2 separate regions of the Homo sapiens genome follow, and region 1 is linked to region 2. Evidence: promoter capture Hi-C in human tissues and cell types (Jung and others, 2019). All regions are on one chromosome and are shown on one strand. Each heading gives the region's core, a stretch centred on a gene start or on the middle of the fragment in contact. The rest is flanking DNA. Distances are from core to core; before and after follow the strand shown.

The links. Contacts are between HindIII fragments. The study calls those that stand out against the background at their distance.
Region 1: a contact is called between a fragment that was not itself captured here and the fragment with the promoter of ZNF625-ZNF20 in region 2, in 7 of the 25 tissues and cell types used here (H1 embryonic stem cells, bladder, dorsolateral prefrontal cortex and 4 more).

What each region holds. Positions count from the first base shown.
Region 1 is chr19:12,188,653-12,192,487 of GRCh38, forward strand. ZNF136 (zinc finger protein 136) reads left to right here. Exons shown (of 4, transcript NM_003437.5): 4 at 1-1,219. Among named protein-coding and RNA genes, the nearest start is that of ZNF136, 27 kb to the left of the region's middle. The HindIII fragment of the contact is 7,748 bases long and covers 1-3,835 here.
Region 2 is chr19:12,154,323-12,158,510 of GRCh38, forward strand. It overlaps ZNF625-ZNF20 (ZNF625-ZNF20 readthrough (NMD candidate)), which reads right to left and starts at 2,409. Exons shown (of 8, transcript NR_037802.1): 1 at 2,234-2,409. ZNF625 (zinc finger protein 625) reads right to left here and starts at 2,412. Exons shown (of 4, transcript NM_145233.4): 1 at 2,234-2,412. The coding sequence starts at 2,236. RefSeq lists a silencer at 1,929-2,098 and enhancers at 2,075-2,766, 2,329-2,438. The HindIII fragment of the contact is 11,402 bases long and covers 1-4,188 here.

The sequences.
Region 1 (3,835 bases), core at 600-3,099, 34 kb after region 2:
ATTTGAACAGATGTTTTGGCTCTGGCTGGGTGTGGTGGCTCACACCTGTAATCCCAGCACTTTGGGAGGCTGAGGCAGGAGGATCACTTGAGGTCAGGAGTTTGAGACCAGTGTGCAAAACATAGCAAGACCTCATCTCAGAAAAAAAAAAAAAGTCATTTGAAAACTTCTAATACAGCAAAATCCTATAAATGTAAGTACTTCAAAAAGCCTCATGCATAGCGGGTCATGTAGTCTCTAGAAAATACATAACCTGATGGAAATGTAGAAGCTATATGTATATTTTGTTAATTAGTGGCTCATATTTAAAATAGTTCTCTGACTATGGATTTCAAATGCTTAATCTCACAAAGAAATGTTAAATTGATATAATCCTGTAAGTAATCTGAAAGCAATAGTGCATGAATTTCATAGGTAGTGTTGTTTTAGGTCAGTAAATAAAATATTTGTCTTTCCATTTTGAAATGTGTTTAATCCAACAATGAATTTAAATGTGTTTCTCATATTCAGGTATGTTAAATTGTATATGGTTGCTTAATTGTTCTGTGATTGAGGACCACTGAAAAATAAGTCTTAATAAATGTTGGTATGAACCTACTTGCTTCATTTAGCAGGTTCTTGATTCCCTTTCCACATTATATACATTCCATCATATTTATTGGAACAGCTCCTTTTTTTTCCTTTTTTCTTTTTTCTTTCTTCTTTTTTCTTTTTGAGACAGGGTCTCGCTCTGTGCTCTGTTGCCCAAGCTGGAGTACAGTGGCATGATCTCGGCTCATTGCAACCTCTGCCTTCTGGGTTCAAGTGATTCTCCCACCTTAGCCTCCTAGGAAGCTGGGACTACAGGCATGTGCCACCACACCTGGCTAATTTTTTGTATTTCTAGTAGAGATGGGGTTTCACCATGTTGGCCAGGCTGGTAGAACTCCTGACCTCAAGTGATCCACCCACCTCAGCCTCCTAAAGTCTGGGATTACACGTGTGAGCCATCACACCTAGCCCATTTTTTTTTTCTTGGCTCAAATAATTTTATTTTGCTTCCTATTAAAGAGTTGTTGTTAATTCTAAGTATGTAAAGTTTATCACAGACTGTAGTCTCGTGAATTATTATTTTAACCTGTTGTTCTTTACTCCTTGTTATTTATTCTGGCTGCTCTTTGTATAATTGATTTTGGGATAAGGAGACAGCTATGATAGAATAATAAAATCTAAAATGGGAGATGCCTTTCATGGATTGTGTCATGTCAATCTGGGTAATGGGAACTAAACTTTTCAGACTTCATTTCTTTCTTTCTTTCTGAAATAGGGTCTCACTCTGTCACTCAGGCTGGAGTGCAGTGGCACGACTGTGGCTCACTGTAACCTCAAACTCTGGAGCTCAGGTGGCCTTCCGACCTCAGCCTCCCAAATGGCTGGAACTATAGGTATGTGCCACCAAGCCCAGCTAATCTTTTTATTTTTGGTTTTTCATCTTTTTTTTTTTTTGTAGAGATGGTGTCTTGCTATGTTGCCCAGACTGGTCTCAAACTCCTGGCCTCAAGTCACCCTCTAGCCTCAGCCTCTTAAAGCACTAGGATTACAGGCATAAGCCACTGTGCCTGGCCCAGAATTTCTTTCTTTCATGGTTACCTGTAGACTGCATCAATAGCCTAAATTCCTGGAAGTTTAGAATGCAGAAGTGAAGAACGCATTAGTCAGATTTTGGAGGCATCATACGGAGAGACAGATGCATATGGGCTGTTTGGACATGGTCATCTAGCCCATTTTCCTGATTCTTTGCCCTGCCAATCAAGAGTATCCTCAGCCGGGTGTGCTGGCTCACACCTGTAATTCTAGCACTTTGGGAGGCCAAGGCGGTCGGATCACCTGAGGTGAGGAGTTCGAGACCAGCGTGGTCAACATGGTGAAACCCCATCTCTACTAAAAATACAAAAATTAGCTGGGTGTGGTGTCGCGTGCTTATAGTCCCAGCTGAGGCAGGAGAATCGCTTGAGCCAGGGAGGTGAAGGTTGCAGTGAGCCAAGATCATGCCACTGCACTCCAGCCTGGGTGACAGAGTACAGAGTAAGACCCTGTCTCAAAAAAAAAAAAAAAAAAAAAAAAAAGAGTATCCTCTAATCCACCACTAGCTACTTCACCTCCATGTTCTCAAAGTTATGGATTTCCATAGATGTTTTTAAAAGCTTCATATCAAAGATTCAGCTGCCATTTGGATATTCCTGAAGGCCCTAATATATCTGCCAAGTAATCAGTTCATATTGTCATTGTTGGGAATAGTCTGATGATCTGACTTGGTTCCTGTACGGTCCAGTTTGTACATAAACATTTTTGTCCATAGGGACAGTGAGTGTTACTGATGCAGGTTGAGAGCTACAATGGCACTATCCAAAAACAAAACGAAAAACCCTACATGGAGCTTGTTCCTCTGCTGCATTATGCAGAGATGGGTCTCACCCCGTTCTTTCATGTGAGAATAAGCACCTTATTCATTATAGAAACATTGTGGGTGTTTCCTGTTACTCATAGCTGAATGCAGTCCCTCAGTTTATTTTGAATTATGTTTGAGTACATATGATTACAAACAATATACATGTCCTCCTCAAACAAAAGTTCTCTACACATTTCTTAGAAATATTAACAGTATGCAAGCAACTTGCATACTGTCTGGTGAGTTTTGTATTTATTGAGAATATATATTAAAATATCCCATTCCAATCATGGATCCGATAAACTTTATAATTAAGCTATTTGTCCAACATTGTGAGTCAATATTACTGTGAGCTTACAACTTCAGGCCTTTTTTTCCTCATAAATTTTAGTTTTCATGCTTATTTGATTACAACTTTTATGATGATAGTAGTTTTTCATATGCATAATACCAAAAGTCAAATCATGTTGTGAGTGATTTCTTTCCAAGGACTATCAGGGACGTCCCTGTTGTCAAGCAGGGTGTAATAAATTGTGGTAATAAATACTACCACAGGCCGGGCGCGGTGGCTCACCCTGTAATCCCAGCATTTTGGGAGGCCAATGCGGGCAGATCACTTGAGGCCAGGAATTGGAGACCAGCCTGGACAACATAGCAACACCCTGTCTCTACTAAAAATACAAAAATTAGCCTGGTGTGGTGGTGCACATCTGTAATCCCAGCTACTTGGGAGTGGAGGTTGCAGTGAGCCAAGCACGCCACTGCACTCCAGCCTGGGCAACAGAGTGAGACTCTCTCAAAAAATAAAAAAATAATAAATACCACCACAAACCAGTAATGACTGTAAGGTGTATCAATAAGAGGGTATTTAAAAGAATTTATTGCAGAACTTATGCTGCTTTTTGGTTGCTTGATTCCTATTTAAGGAAGCAAAAAATTTCTCTGTATTTGATATAGTGAAGAGGTGAACTTAATTCTACCCTTGGTAATTCTTTTTATTTTTGAGACGGAGTCTTGCTCTGTCACCCAGGCTGGAGTGCAGTGGCGCAATCTCAGCTCACTGCAAGCTCCGCCTCCCGGGTTCACGCCATTCTCCTGCCTCAGCCTCCCGAGTAGCAGGGACTACAGGCACCCACCACTACGCCCGGCTAATTTTTTGTATTTTTAGTAGACGGGGTTTCACCGTGTTAGCCAGGATGGTCTCGATCTCCTGACCTCGTGATCCACTGGCCTCGGCCTCCCAAAGTGCTGGGATTACAGGCATGAGCAACCGCGCCCGGCCCTAGTAATTCTTTTTTTTTTTTCTTTTGTGAGACAGAGTCTTGCTCTGTTGCCCAGGCTGGAGTTCAGTGATGCGATCTTGGCTCACTGCAACCTCCACTTCTCTGGTATAAGTGATTCTCCTGC
Region 2 (4,188 bases), core at 1,159-3,658:
CCCTTGTATCAGGAACTACAGGTGGGTGCAACCACACCTGTCTAATTTTTCTATTTTTCTTTTCTAGACATGGGTCTTGTATTACCAAGGCTGGTCTCCAACTCCTGGTCTCAAGCAATCATCCTGCCTCAGCCTCACAAAGCTGGGATTACAGGTGTGGGACACTGCACTAGGTCAAGAGTTTAACTTTTAGCTCCGGAGTTCTAAGCCCATTTCCCTAGAGTCTGTATTTTCTTGAATGGCAATTCTCAGATTTTCACTTAAATAATCTCCTTATAATAGGAATCTGATCATTTCAATCATTTAAGGTAGAAAAATCCAAACAAGGCGACTACATCACTGTAACCAATAAAGTATTTTTTGATTTTTATTCTAATGCACCATATAAAAGCCTATCCTTCAACCTGTAAACTAAAAATAAAAACCTAAGCTCCCCATCCCACCCCAATCAAGTCAACTGAGTGGCTCTTTACCAAGGGGAGGCCCCCCAAAAACCTGAAAGTTCCCAGTTACATTAGTAAGGGAGATCAGACACTCCATACTCCCTTCTGGAGTTTAGACACAGCAACTGACCCACATTCATATTAAAATAGACATAAGACCTGCAAAGAGGCCGGGCACAGTGGCTCAGTCCTGTAATCCTAGCACTTTGGGAGGCGGAGGGAGGCGGAGGCAGGCGGATTATTTGAGGTCAGGAGTTTGAGACCAGCTTGGCCAACATGGTGAAACCCCATCTCTACTAAAAATACAGAAATTAGCCGGGTATGGTGGCGTGCACCTGTAATTCCAGCTACTTGGGAGGCTGAGGCAGGAGAATTGCTTGAACCTAGGAGGCGGAGGTTGCCGTAAGCCGAGATTGCGCCACTGCACTCCAGCCTGGGCGAGAGTGAGGCTCCATCTCAAAAAAAAAAAAAAACCTGCAAAGAAACCCTTTGTACCAATAAATACTAAATTGCAAACAAGACCTAAGGCCATGCAAGGCAAGGGTAAAGTCACGCCTTAGAATTCATAAAATCTAGTGAAACATATCTGTTTTTTGGTGGGGATGGAATCACGTGGCAGGTAACAGACTCCCTTCACTTAAACATTCCTTCCTACCCCTTTCAAATTTTAGACACAACTTCACACTCTCAGCCAACTGCCAACTACAGAATCCCTCAACCACCTGTGCCTTCTAAGCCCCGCTTCTACGTGTCCTGCCCTGTCAGCCTTCCATGCCTTGATTGATCTTTTCCCTGCAATTCCTGTCTCGCTGAAATGAATAAAACCAAACTGCCATCGAACCTCCTGGGGACCACTTACTCGAGGCTACATGCGGTTGTTTCCCTTGGTCACGTTCTCTCATATTCGGCGTAGAACATAGTTCAAGTTATTTTGCAGAGTTTTGCTCTTTCCGTTATCAAACTGCAAGCCATGACTGGGTGTTTCTCATTCAGGAAACATTTCTCATTCATTTTTTTCAAACTCCTATTCTGAGAAGCAAAACTCTTTAATTTTTAAGAGGACTCAGTTTAGTTTGTTGCTGTTGTTTTTGTTTTGTTTTGTTTGAGACAGGGTCTCGCTCAGTCGCCCAGGCTGGAGTGCAGTGGCGCGATCTCGGCTCACTGCAGTCCCAATCTCCTCCCTCAAGCGATCCTCCCACCTCAGCCCCCCAGTAGCTGGGATTACAGGTGGGCGGCACCACGCCCGGCTCATTTTTTAAAAATTTATTTTTAATAGAAACTAGGGTCTCGGTATGTTGCCTAGGCTGGTCTCGAATTTCTGGGCTGAAGCAATCCCCCCGCCTCAACCTGCCAGGCGTGACCCACTGCGCCTGGCCTTCAATTTAGTTTTTCAGGAAAAAAGGGGGGACTGGGGACCCCGCAGCCCACCGCTCCTCCCACACGAACCACACACCCGAGGCAGGATTGCCTCCATGACCCTCCCGTGGTCTCCGCACAATCTGGGGAGACGCGGGACTACGGGCGCGGAGCTCCCCAGAGAGGGCTCCGGGGCCGGGGCCAGGGCCGGGGTCGCAGTCGCAGCGCAGAGACGGGACAGGACGCCTGGGGTCCCGGCTGCCGGCCCAACCCCACCCTGCGGCCGAAGGGACCGAGGGCCGAGCTACGCCAGGGGGACTCCGCTCTGCAGACCCGAAGTCGCTGCAGGAAGGCCTGGGTCCTGCTAGAGCCGGTTCGAGCCGGTTCCTCCCGGCCCCTCCCCCGTCTCGGGACCCCCGGCCCCGCACACTCACCATTTCCCGGCTTCCAGGTGTCCTGGCCTCCTCTCCACGGATCCCTCTAACAGTCCAGTCACAGTGCGGGCGATGGAGCGACAGAAGCTATGGCGGAGGCACCTGGTCCCTCTCGGGGCCGGAAAACCGAGATCCCGACCTCCCTTTGGTGCAAGACGCCTGGGAGTCAGGAAAGCGGGAATGCGGCCTCCCCTTCCCCGGATGGACAGTTGGCAGGACCCCGCCCCAGCGCCCCTGATTGGATGAGGCTCCAGTCCCCGTCCCATCGGTCCTGAGTGACAGCGGAAGCCCTGGGTAACAAGGCCCGGCAGAACCGAAATGACCTGTTCCAACCACAGATTATCTAAGCGAGCTCCCTCCCTGCGTCTTGCTCTTTGGGTATTTGCATTTCAGCCAAATTTGCTCCGAATTGCTAGAGGGGGTACCGTTGTCTTCCTCACTCAATGGGCTGTCCCTGCTCCTTTGTCTTGCACAGGAAATTCCAGACTCAGAGTCCAGTGGAGGTGAAGGAAATTAAAATATTTTACGCCAAAATATATTTATTTGACAGATTTTGAAATGGCTGTGGCTCGGCCGCAAAAAAAAGTGGACTGGCAAAGCTGTCTTTGGAGGGGGGGAATTTGCATCTGCAGAGAATCTCCATTGATGAAACCATGCCCTCTCCCCCTTTATTTCTTTCCCTTTATCCAAGCTAGAAGAGATTGTGACCTGAACACAGGCAGGGTGCGGTGGTTCACGCCTGTAATCCTAGCACTTTGGGAGGCCAAGACTGGAGGATCCCTTAAAGTAAAGAGTTAAAGACCAACTTGGTCAACACAAGAATACCCCTGTTTTGTTGTTTTTTTTTTTTAATTTTTATTTATTAAACTTTAAGTTCTAGGGTACATGCGCACAATGTGCAGGTTTGTTACATATGTATACATGCGCCATGTTGGTGTGCTGTACCCATTAACTCGTCATTTACATTAGGTATATCTCCTAATGTTATCCCTCCCACATCCCCCCACCCTAGACCCCTGTTTTTATTATTTAAAAATCTTTACGGCCGGGAGCGGTGGCTCACGCCTATAATCCCAGCACTTTGGGAGGCCGACGCGGGCGGATCACGAGGTCAGGAAATCAAGACCATCCTGGCTAACACGGAGAAGCCCCGTCTCTACTAAAAATACAAAAAATTAGTCGGGTGCGGTGGCGGGCGCCTATAGTCCCAGCTACTCGGGAGGCTGAGGCAGGAGAATGGCGTGAACCCGGGAGGCGGAGCTTGCAGTGAGCCGAGATTGCGCCACTGCACTCCAGCCTGGGCGACAGGGCTAGACTGTCTCAAAAAAAAAAAAGAAAGAAAAAGAAAAAGAAAATCTGTGAAGGTCAGAATTAGAGCAAGACCCATTTGGGATGCCTCCTGGAGAAAGGGTTTATGAATTTTTATTTATTATTTTATTTTATTGTATTTATTATCATTTTTTTTGAGACGGAGTCTCGCTCTGTCGTCCGGGCTGGAGTGCAGTGGCGCAATCTCGGCTCACTGCAAGCTCCGCCTCCCGCCCGGGTTCATGCCATTCTCCTGCCTCAACCTCCCAAGTAGCTGGGACTACAGGCGCCTGCCACCACGCCCGGCTAATTTTTTGTATTTTTAGTAGAGACGGGGTTTCACCGTGTTAGCCAGGATTGTCTCGATCTCCTGACCTCGTGATCCGTCCGCCTCGGCTTCCCAAAGTGCTGGGATTACAGGCGTGAGCCACCGCGCCCTGCGGGTTTATGAATTTAACAGTAAATTTAGCTTAAACTGACTCAAGTCGAGAGCTTCCTGTTGGTGAAAATGAAGGTCTTAAAGGAGAGAATAATTTCTAAACTGAGGAGGGGACAGAAGGGCATTTCAAACTCCCAGATAAATCCTTAATTTTCTCTGCCTCATCATCTGGGACTGACCCGCCCTGGGGGGCTCCATTTCAGCAGTC